Regions from separate parts of the Homo sapiens genome. Here regions 1 and 2 are each linked to region 3. Evidence: promoter capture Hi-C in human tissues and cell types (Jung and others, 2019). All regions are on one chromosome and are shown on one strand. Each heading gives the region's core, a stretch centred on a gene start or on the middle of the fragment in contact. The rest is flanking DNA. Distances are from core to core; before and after follow the strand shown. Region 1 has its middle 190 kb from the start of MIR572. Region 2 overlaps HS3ST1 (heparan sulfate-glucosamine 3-sulfotransferase 1). Region 3 holds the start of ZNF518B (zinc finger protein 518B).

The links. Contacts are between HindIII fragments. The study calls those that stand out against the background at their distance.
Region 1: a contact is called between a fragment that was not itself captured here and the fragment with the promoter of ZNF518B in region 3, in 1 of the 25 tissues and cell types used here (H1 embryonic stem cells).
Region 2: a fragment that was not itself captured here is called in contact with the fragment with the promoter of ZNF518B in region 3 in 2 of the 25 tissues and cell types used here (dorsolateral prefrontal cortex and lymphoblastoid cells).

What each region holds. Positions count from the first base shown.
Region 1 is chr4:11,177,719-11,181,569 of GRCh38, forward strand. No RefSeq gene overlaps it. Among named protein-coding and RNA genes, the nearest start is that of MIR572, 190 kb to the right of the region's middle. The HindIII fragment of the contact is 3,768 bases long and covers 1-3,664 here.
Region 2 is chr4:11,400,818-11,404,611 of GRCh38, forward strand. The region is part of intron 1 of HS3ST1 (heparan sulfate-glucosamine 3-sulfotransferase 1); the gene reads right to left. Among named protein-coding and RNA genes, the nearest start is that of HS3ST1, 26 kb to the right of the region's middle. The HindIII fragment of the contact is 8,106 bases long and covers 1-3,794 here.
Region 3 is chr4:10,455,724-10,459,474 of GRCh38, forward strand. ZNF518B (zinc finger protein 518B) reads right to left here and starts at 1,703. Exons shown (of 3, transcript NM_053042.3): 1 at 1,594-1,703. RefSeq lists enhancers at 769-828, 811-1,626, 889-1,048 and a silencer at 1,179-1,818. The HindIII fragment of the contact is 10,057 bases long and covers 1-3,751 here.

The DNA of each region.
Region 1 (3,851 bases), core at 531-3,030, 720 kb after region 3:
TTTTTCTTCTCTGGCAGTTTCTTCAGTCATAAAATGGGGATTCAAAATGCCTATCACAAAAGTTAATTTTAAGAATTAGAGTTATATATTAATCACATTCTTTAGCTTGGCAATATTTTAGTTGTTAACATTATGATATAACACCTTCTTATAGGGCATTAAATGACAATTCTCTCTTCATCTTGTGCTTTTCTTAAGGAAAAAATTAGACAAAAGGACTCATGTCTAGTATCTTTAAGGCCAGCATTTTATCCAAACTGCTTGACAGGACATTGCCTTAGAGAGGACTGTTCATATGGGTTTTAGTAATCTAAGTCAAAGTCCATGCTTCTTATCCATGCTCACTGAAGCATGTTGCACAGCCTGCGTTCAGAGGCAGCCACATTCTCAGAAATAGGCTAAAGAGCCTCCGAGAAGCTGACAGCAGCTCCTAGACTTCCCAGACCCTTTCTACAAGAACCTGGTGATTGCAATGCAAATGGGTCATAGATGAGAAATAAATGTAGTGTAGTGTCTGGTAGCTCCACTGGTCATAGAATAATAGGTGGTTTTCTTTTATGTCTCCTTCCGCCACCCAAATTTACTCTCTCTGAGGAAAATAATCACTAAACATTTGAGGAAATCTCATTAGCTTGGAGCCAGAGGACCTGCATTCTAGCCCTGCCTCTAGAAATTGCTATTTGTATCATAGGGACTGCCCGGGTGATGTTTCTGAACCCCCATCAACTCTCTTGATGTATAAAATGAAGAAAAAGTCTACTCTTCAAAGTAAATAGTCTGTATGACATCGTTCTGCAAATTCGACCATGCCAAACACGTTATTATTATAATTATTATACTTACATGATTGCTATTCCCTTCATGAGGTGTGAGGGGAACATATTTTAGTCCCCGTTCTCAAGGAGTTATGACCTTGAACTGGATAAAGTCACGTGATACAATGGATGAAGAGATGAAATCTAACCCCATTTTAAATGCATCTCAGAAAGCATAATTATAGTCTTTAGTCTCCAGAAACAAATGGAGTAAAAATCCTCTTTTGTATGAGGATTGTCCTATGGTCAATGTATGGCCAAACTTACCTTGATCTTGGTTATACTCAATGGAATGGTCTGGCACAATGAAGCTTCTCCATACCTAGTTTTCCAGCATGATTTATGGGACCGTCTTCAGACATACTAAATTTCAGTTCCAAGTTGGAGTCCCCATGTGCTTTTCACATGAGCCTGCCTTTGCCTCTGTGCCTCGTGCTCTCTGTTTGAAATAACTTACCCTTGCCATGTGCTGACTGGCTCTGATCATCTCTGCCATGGCTTTTCCCCTTCTTCTAGAGCTCATTGTCTTCTCTCTACCAAAATAATCCTTTTCACATTGTGACAGGTTTGTTCCAAAAGTTCTTTATTTTCTCTGATAGATGATAACTTTTTTTTTTGGCGGGGGGGGATGGAGTCTCGCTCTGTCACCCAGGCTGGAGTGCAGTAGCACGACCTCGGCTCACTGCAACCTCTGCCTCCCTGGTTCAAGCAATTCTCCTGCCTCAGCCTGCCAAGTATCTGGGACTACAGGTGTGTGCCACCACACCCGGCTACTTTTTGTATTTTTAGTGGAGATGGGGTTCCACCATGTTGGGCAAGCTGGTCTCGAACTCCTGACCTCAGGCGATCCACCCCCCTCGGCCTCCCAAAGTGCTGGTATTACAGGTATGAGCCATCGCACCTGGCCGATAGAAGTTAACTTTTTAAGATCAGGAACTATGTCTTATTGATCTGATGTTTTAGTTCCTTGTGAACCCATGTTTTGAGCACATGCATCTATACTGAATGCCAGTATCTGAGTGGCTTGCAGCCCTGCCCTAATGGGATACGAAGGGGAGCTGGACATAGGAGATTGAAGCATGTTCTTCATGGGATACTTATTTTGCCTGGTGGGCAGTCTAATGTTTAGCTGTTTAACTCAGAACCAGGGGATTCCTCACATGGGGAACATATTTATACTGGCAGGATCCTGTCGCTCTTGCCTGCACCCTGTCCAGTTTATGCCTGCTGGACCATCAACCTGATGCTGGGAGTCCAACCTTGTGTTTTCCTTGGCATCCCTGGGAAAACCCAACTGGGTTGGGAAAAGCCAACCCTTGTTCTTCAGAGAGAAAGTGCAAATTTCATCCACCGCCATAACAGGAAAAGGTTTAAAGATTTTTACTTACAGATCCTGGGCAGGGGAGGGTGCAATGAGTCTGAAGGGAAGTCCTTTGTCCCTGAGTCACACAAGGCAGGAAAGAAGTCACATAGAGTGAGAGAGCACACATGTGGCAGTGAGCAATGTACATGAGGGAATGGGGTGTGGACCACTTTAAGGTCACAGGGAAAGGCCTGGATGGTCTGTTTAAAGGAAATGGCTGGAAAGTGGGGAGCCCAGTCTGCTAGTGGTTATCTCCGGCCACCACCTTGAACCATATGAGTTTGGCTTTAGAATTGGAAACTATGTCAAGGGTGGCTGAGTCCTGCTTCTGGTATGAGCAAGTTAAATTTGTATTCAAATTAGATGCCAAGACATAAAATTGTAAGAATGTGCTACAGGCCCCTGGTTTATGGTGAATCCTTAGCAAAGTTCCAGAGAAAGAAAATAAATAAATAAACCAAAAAGAGCAAAGGAGAACCGTCAATGGGGTAGGTGGTTCAGAGGAAGGAGGCATGGGTATGAGGCAACTCTACAGCAACACTGAGGAAAAGTAGATGTGTTTTTCACCTGGACATAGATGTCTGTAGGGTCAACAGGTAGAAGGGAAAGGACTGTATTTGTCCAGTTTGAGTCCAGCGGCCATACCTATGACTGACAGATAGAAGTTAGCCAGCATAATTGACAACTTTCATGGTTGGGAGTTTCTCACTGTGCAAATAGATCAAATGTGGTTTGGGCAATTACAATGTGGAGACTTTGCTAATGGAGTTAATTGCTGTTTGTGAGTGGTGGGAGATGATTTCTACCCCCATAAAATTCTTTCTGTTCGTAACATCCTATTTTTCTGCAATTGCACATTCTATGATTCTCAGATAAATGATTTCTGAGGGAGAAAAATGGGGCATGCAAGAGAGAGAGAAAGAAAGAGTTTCATGTGAGATTGACAAGGAAGAGTGCCCTATGCGGACTCCTGTGATTCTGTCCTATTTCTTAATTTATTAAGCTTATTGCTAAGATCTATGACCAGGCTTTTTGCACTGGGGACTCAGTAAGATTTGAAGTGACTAACAGCTGAACACTTTGTTCAGGTCTCTTCTCAATGCCACCCTCTGGAGAGGCCCTCCCTGTCCGTGCCTTCTAAAGGGGCACTTCTCCATCACCCTGTGATCCTTTACCCCATCTGAGATTTCTTCATAGCACACAATCACAATCTGAAACTTTATCAGATACCTATTTATTGTTCGATTTCAATCTCTTTCAATATAGAATGTTAGCTCCAGGAAAGCAGGAACTTTGTATATTTTGTTCACCTTGATAGCCTCAGTTCCAAAAATAGTACCTGACACATGGGCAGCATCCAGTAAATGTTTGTTGAATGAATGAATAAAAGAAGGAGCTCAATTTACTTTAGCTTGCCTTAGGCTATTTGCCATGCTTGAAGCAGCTGGTGTACTGACACCAGATTCTGCTAACCTTTCAATAACCCCAAATAAAAGATGACTGCCACTAGCTTCCTATGTTCATACTAAAAAGATTACAAAAAGAGTGTTCCCTCCTTAAAATATACCTTATTGGACACTTCCCTACATCTGTTCAAATTACATCATGCAGATACAGATTTTGCAGTTAGACTTCTAAGTCAGGGTTCCCATTATCCCTGGACCCTACTTCAT
Region 2 (3,794 bases), core at 173-2,672, 940 kb after region 3:
GACAACGTATCAGTCCCCAGCCTGGCTGCAAGAGGCCTTGTGTGTTTTTGCTCACCCTCTTTCACTATTGGCTTTGCCATGAGAAGAATATGCCCTGGCTAGCCCATGGTCCCAGAGGGAGGATGAAAGACACACAGAGCCATCCCAGCTCATGAGTGAAGATGCATGATTGTGGTTTTAAGCCCCTGAGTTTTGGAGTGGTTTGTATTGCAGCGGGAAATTGGCAAAAGTTAATTGACGCAGCCTGACTGTAGGCATCAGGGAGATATATGTTATGATTGTAATTTTGGTAGGGTACTATGAAGACACATGTTCATTCATTTTGCCTAAAATAATTGGGGATGGTTTCACAGTGGAGGAAACATTTGAAATAGGCCTGGAGGGATAAACAAGTGAAATTACTACAAAGTGCAAAAAAGCCTTCATTTGTACAAAGCTTTACTATTGATAATGTGGTCTCATACTATATTCAGCTATTGTCACTACAACCCTACACTGTAAGGTAGGAAGGCAAGGCAGATGTCACCGCCATTTTTTTTTTTTTTTTATGGAGTTTTGCTCTTGTTGCTCAGGCTGGAGTGCAATGGTGTGATCTCAGCTCACCGCAACCTCCGCCTCCCCGGTTCAAGTGATTTTCCTGCCTCAGTCTCCCGAGTAGCTGAGATTACAGGCATGTGCCACCACGCCCAGCTAATTTTGTATTTTTAATAGAGATGGGCTTTCTCTATGTTGGTCAGGCTGGTCTCGAAATCCCACCCTCAGGTGATCTGCCTGCCTCGGCCTCCCAAAGTGCTGGGATTACAGGCATGAGCCACTGCGCCTGGCCTGTCACCACCATTTTATAGAGGGTAGTCTTGTCTAAGGACACAATTCTATTAGTCTATTTCAAAATTTAGAGCCCAAATTGAAAACTCTAAACTCAGTGTTCTTTATCCACAAACCACATCTTTTCCACAAAACTTCTCCTCTTTACCTATTTAAGATTTATAACATTTAGGCAGTAAAGGACACAGGAACTGCTGGCCTAGATGCTGTGGGGTTCCACAAGACAGACCAGTCAAGGGTTTATGTTTTCAAGGAGCTGATACTCATCAGTCTGTGTTTCACGCTATCCCCTAAAGAGGAGATTAGTTGCTTTCACTTGAGTCATCTCTGTTAAAACACATTAAGGGAAGCGTAAGAGACAGGCCTGGCTTGGGGACTGAGGGATTTACAAAGCTAGTAAAAATATTCTCCATCAAGAGGACTCATCATCTTTTGTACGGTAGTTTCAAAATTTACTTCATTAGTTTAAAACTTGTCCAGAATGAATAAAGGAAGAACAAATTCCAGGACATCCATTTTTATGATCAACCAGCTAATCTACCTTTCTCAGATATTGTTATCTTCTTTGAAAAACATATTAAAGAGCAAGTAATCAAATAGATGGAAGGTTTTAGAGAACCACAGTGCACTGGAGAAGGGACCTGAGAGATCAGTGATGTAACTCTTTAAGAAAAAATCAAGAATGCTTTAGAAAGGATAGCCAAGAACGATGAGGTTTCAGGTTGGTTCTACCGATTGGTGAACTAAATTTAACAGGCCAATTTTTTTAGTCAAGTGATGGTTTCAGGGTGTTTCAGCTGAATTTCATTTCCTTCTCAAGTCACCTATGTGGTTCGACCAAATGTACCAATTGTGCTTGGCTCTTACATGTTTGAGATGTGAGAATGTATGCAATTGTATGTGCATGCTTGAGTGTGTCTGTATGTGTATGCATGCATGTGTGTGTGTGTGTGCAGGTATAACAGGTAGGTCAAGTGAGAGAGGGACTAACTACTACCCTTTAGAGAGCTATACTGTGTGTTGGTCACTGCTATCACCATCTTATAGTTCCATGTTCAGACTCAGGGAACAACACATTCATATTATTTGATACCTAAGTGTAGAGGCAGAGGCCAGATCTGAAATTCATATTATCTGACTGTTTATGCTCCTTCAACTCTAACCTGAGGCATCCTGGTTAGTGTAGTGTACATCTGAGGTTTCTTTCCTGAAGGAGAATTACCAGCAGACAGTAGAGAAGAAACTAAATATAGTTTGTCCTTTATGAAAGAAAATAACAACAACGTATTGGGAAGTTAAGTAGCTTATAAGCTCCTTGTTTGTATTTTAATCCTTTCTAAAAATGTATTTACTTATGTCTAGACCTTTTTCATTCAAAAATATTTGAGGCTAATAGAGAAAGAAATTAGCTAATGTCTTATATACACATATGCAAGTATATACGCACACATATACATACACACATACTATATATAGCATATATATCATGTGTATACCCCATGTGTATCTTTTATGTGTATATGTAAAAATGTGTATAAGTACATATGTGTTTGTGTGTGTAAATGTATGCACACATATATTCATAGCTAAATATAGTATAACCTGTTTTATATTACATACACACTGTGGGCATTGGGAGCCAACTTCCTCTTGTGGTTTTGTAATTTGGACTTCCCAGTGGCACAGAAAGGATTTCTGGTCCTTTTTGTAACACTCTCAGAAACAAAAAGATTCCCAAGCTCAGGTGAACCTGTAAGCCATTCCTGTGTGCCACCTTGATCTTGACAATGAAGTTATAAACATCAGGGAAGAAGGGAGTCACTTAGTCCCTGCCTTTCACACCCCAAGATGACTTGCCCAGTGTCACATAGTAAATCTGTTCCTAGGACTTTTGGCTCCAGAAGTCCAGTTCTGTAGTCTAGTTGCTGTTACTACTGTCTTCCGAGTAAGTGGTTGTAATGTAAAATAATGACAATATTTTTGGGATTCCATAGAAGAAAAACCCAACAAAATCTACCCAGCAATGACAACTCCCTGGCCACCAACTTCCAGTGTCAGCTGACACACAGGGTATGTGTAGTACAGGGTCAAACTTGCTCATTTGTTCTGTTCAGTAGAAGGGTCCAAATGAATTGCACAGGCCCTGGAGTCAGGATTCCTGTCTCTAGTTTGGACCTTGGTCAAAGTGACTTAACCTCTCTTAGCTTCAGTTTCCTCATCTGTAAAATGGTAATAATTCCACCTGCTTCAAATGATTACTTTGAGACTGAAATGAAACAATGTGTGTCAGGACTGTCCAATATAAATATATTGTGTATAACATATGCATTCAGACATTTTAAAACATATATTCTACATAGCTTAATAGATCTAAAGTGTTATCACTCTAACCTATAATCACTATATAATTTTTCTTTTTTGAGACAGAGTCTTCCTCTGTCGCCCAGGCTGGAGTGCAGTGACATGATCTCAGCTCACTGTGACCTCTGCATTCTGGGTTCAAGTAGTTCTTGTGCCTCAGCTTCCCAAGTAGCTGGGACCACAGGTGTGTGCCACCACAGCTGGCTAATTTTTGTATTATAATTTTAGTAGAGATGGGGTTTCGCCATGTTGGTCAGACTGGTCTCGAACTCCTGACCTCAAGTGATCCACCTGTTTCGGTCTCCCAAAGTGCTTGGATTCCAGGTGTGAGCCACCATACCTGGCCTAATCACTATATAAAATTAATGAAATATTTTGCATTTTTTTCTACCCAGTCTTCAAAATCCAAGTGCATATATATTTCCTGTGTAGCACATCTCAAGGACACATATGGCTGGTGGCAATTGAGTTAGAGAGCACAGAGATAGATAGCACTGGGCATGTTTGCAATTCTTAATCTGAGAGGTCTTTAAGTGTGGAACACACTCTCCTGAAAGCAAGATTCTCTACGCACTCACAGATTAGGAGCTTCCTGAACAGGAGAAGAA
Region 3 (3,751 bases), core at 453-2,952:
ATTGCATTTGCAATGAATGTTATCAGCATAGCAAACTGTCTACGCAAAAAAGTGTTATTTTTGAAGGCTAAATTTGATCCAAGATGAAAGTAACTTTTAAAAATTGCATCCTAGTTAAAGATATCAATATCACACAATTTTAAAAAAGAACTATTTGTATTCTACTCAAAGAGACAACAGTATATAACATTGGTTTCTAAAACAATATTTTCTGAACCCTTGGCTGTGTACTGACATCATATGCTGGGCTGAACTTTGCATATGTGACTCAAGAGAGAGAAAAGAGATGTATTCCCATCCTCAGTCTCTGCTCTACTGTAGAAGAGTACTGCAAGCTTCTAGAGACCCAGGTTTGTCTTAATTCTTGGTGATTTCAAGTCTAAACTTAAGATGGTTTAAAGAGTCTAACACAACATTAGAGTTTAGCTACGTAGATTTGTACTTTTAAATAGGACATAATGCTCTGTAGTTTTTTTTTTTAATGTTACGTTGATAAATCGTTCATTATTACAATTTTTAAAGTCAGAGGTATTGTAACGGGATACATTAACTACCCAACTTATAAAGACTTAAGTGTTTTCTCCCGTTCGCTCTTTTGGCTTTTCCTTTCTGGTTAAGAAACTTTCATTCTTTTGAACCCTGCAATTTCTTGGCTTTACAGAGCCCCAAACCCCAAAGACACCAAGATAAGACGGGCAGGCCGGTATGGGGAGGTCCCACAATGACATCAGCATTTGGAACAATTCAAACCTTCACCATCTCTTCTCAACCTCCTATGTCCTCGCCCCCCGTAAAAGATGCGCAGGACCTCGATGGACGAGCCCACCCCTGACCCTCTCAAGGAAAGACAATGCCAGGCTGGTTTTCGAGTTTATTGTCGGCACGCTCCCCCGATGGCAGGCAGCATCCGAGGCGAGCGCGCCTGAGCCTGGGCGCTCGGAGGACGAGGCCAGGTGCATCGGGCGCATCGTCGTCTCCCAGGCGCGTCCCGCTCGCCGCGAGGGAAGGCCGGGGTTCTTCCAACCGAAGAAAACCAAAACCGTCAACGCTCAGCTCCGAGGCCCGCAGGAGGCTTTAAAAATGGCCTCCTGACGACACTTCCTGCTCGGCGCGGACGGTAGGAGCCCTCGGAGGAGGCATCCTTCATAACGCTGGGGGCGGGGAGCGCAGGCCGGGCCAGCGGCGCCACACGAACGGCCCCGCGGGACGCTGCCACCCCCGCCTCGGTCGCCCCGGCGCGTCGGCCGAGTCCGCGGGGTCGCGGCGCACAAAGGCGAGCTGGGGGCGCCGGGCCGGACCCCGACCCTAGGCCAGGCCCGCGTACCTGCTCAACGCGCGCCAAGCCGCGGCCCGGGCCCCCACCCCAGCCGGTGCCCCACGCCCACCAGCCGGAGCCCGCGTTCGGCCTACCCGGTGCCACTTGCCACGACGCCAGCCCTCAGCGCGGGCACGCGGGGCCGCGGCCGCTCGACCCGCCCCGGCCTGGCCCCGTCAGGCCCCCGCCCCGCGCGCCCCCACGACCCGGCCGCAGCTGGCGCTTCGGTCACGTACACGCGGATCCGGGGGCCCTCGCCCTCCCGCTCAGCTACTTACCCGGCAGGCCGGATTCGGGTGCCAGGTCCCGGCGAAGGGGCGTCTACACCGCCGGCCGCAGACCGCCGGCGCCGCGCCCGCTGTAGGTCCCTACCCGGGGGGCGGAGCCCGCGCCAGCCCCGCGCGTGCGCAATGTGAAGCGGCGGCGCGGCTCCAGCGAGGCCGGCGCCTGAGGTCTCTAAGGCTGCGCCCGCCCCCGCCGGGCTTCTAAGCTGTCCAGAGCGGGGAGCCTCAGACCCAGCCGAGCCCCACTTCTGGGCTTAGAGCTTGACCCAACACGTTCGCACCGTAGCGAGCGAGGTCCACATTTAGCCATGCCGCAGGCAAAAGAAGGATTCGGCTTCGGTCCTGGCCCAGTCTGCCATCCCGGGGCGCCTGCCTTGTACCGGGTCCCGCGGAGGGCGGCCTTGGCGCCTGCCTCCCTGGAGCCTGCAGTCCTGCAGTGGGTGAGTGAAAGCGAGAGAAGAGGAGCTCAGGTCCTCAGCCTCCAAACTCGTCTTCTTGGAGAGCTTCAGTGAAGGAGATGGCCTTGAAGTCCTGGGTACAAATCCTGACTCTCCCTACTCCTTTACATCTTAGCTGCTGGACCTTGGCGAGAAAGTCCCCTGACCTCTCTCAGTGTCTTCATTTCTGAAGACGGGGAAGGTCGTATGTGAGGCGCAAAGCCTCCTCTAGCAGTTGGGCGTTGCGAGGGTCAGAGGGGACAATGACTGTGGGAGTCTGGAGAGGGTGTGAGCTCATTTAATGCCAGAGTTTCTTTCCTGCCTCCTGGACTTCGGTGCTATTTTGGGCGAGCCAACTGCCCTCTAGATACACCTGCATCTACGGTCCGGAAGGAAGACATATTTAGAATAGAGCCTCTAAGAGGAAAGAAGAAGACCATATTGCCAGGTCCCGCACAATCAGTGACTCCCCACAAAGTGAAACAGCTCTCCAGCAGGGGCAGGTTGAGGCATGGGAGCAGCGTCACTGGGAAGTACAGTTTCTTCGGGATGAACAGCTAAAGTTTATTTCAAAGCTCTGGAGGCGGGGGCGGGGCAAGGCTGGTTTCCATCACCTTCCTGTTGGCGGCCAAAGGTCGGCGTGCACGGACAGCGGCCAGTATGCTGCACGGAGGAGATGTGGGCCTGGGCAGTACTGCCACACGGAGAAGCGGAGTTGAAGAAGACAGGCTCAGCCACAAGTCCAGCAGCTGGGCAAAACCTCCACCACTAAAGTATCAGGAGCTGGGCAGAGAAAATAGCAGCCCAGAGAGCAAATCCTTCTTCCTGCCCTAGGCTGCAGTGCTCCTAACCTCGGTCCTGATCAGGGAGCTGCTAGGGTCCTGGTTTTCTATCTCCTAGGGCTCAGAAAAGCTAAGGAACCTCTTCTCAGAAAAACACATTTATGTGCAGATAGCACCTATCAGAGAGAATATGCCAGAGAGTTCAAAGTCTCCCTCAAGAGTAGGGTCAAGTTGGGAAAGGCATTGAGAATCCAAACTAGGAGCCACTGCCTGAAAATCTCTAGTGGCAAACAGAGCCACATCAGGAAAAACTATTAATTCTAAGTATTGGAGAATCTGAGGTCTAGACATTAGAAAATTGTCCTAAACTTTATAAGGAGAGGCAACTCTCCTTATAACTTCTACTCATGCATCACAGTTCTGCCCTCTTAAGTCACACAGAATTGATGTAAGGTACCTGTGGGTCTCCTGGGAGTTTTTCTGAAGTGAGAACTGGTTATAAATCCCAGTTCGGCCACATAGAAGTTGTGAGCCTGTCTGAACCTCAGTTTCTCATGTAAAATTCAGTGAAAAATAGGTCCTTCCTCCCAAGGGGGTTGTCAACATTAAACAAGAGAAAGCAAGTCAGGACTTATCACAGTCCCTGGCAGATAGAAGTGACTGTTAACTTACTCTTCAGTAGCCCAAATTCAGGGAGATGAAATGCTTTGTGGAGTGTCTGGAAATGGAGTGTTTACAGCCTGAAAAAGGGTCAAGGAAAAATAGAAACTACTTCAGCAGAAACCTTTAAGGCTGATGTCCCTAAAAGTCTTTTGATGCTTGCAAATGTGAATCATCACACGTTCCCTACACGTCTGCCCTTCATGTCTTCTTCTCCACCCCCCAGCTTAGTTTGCCTAAATTCCGTGGATCACTTCTGTCACGAGTTGAATT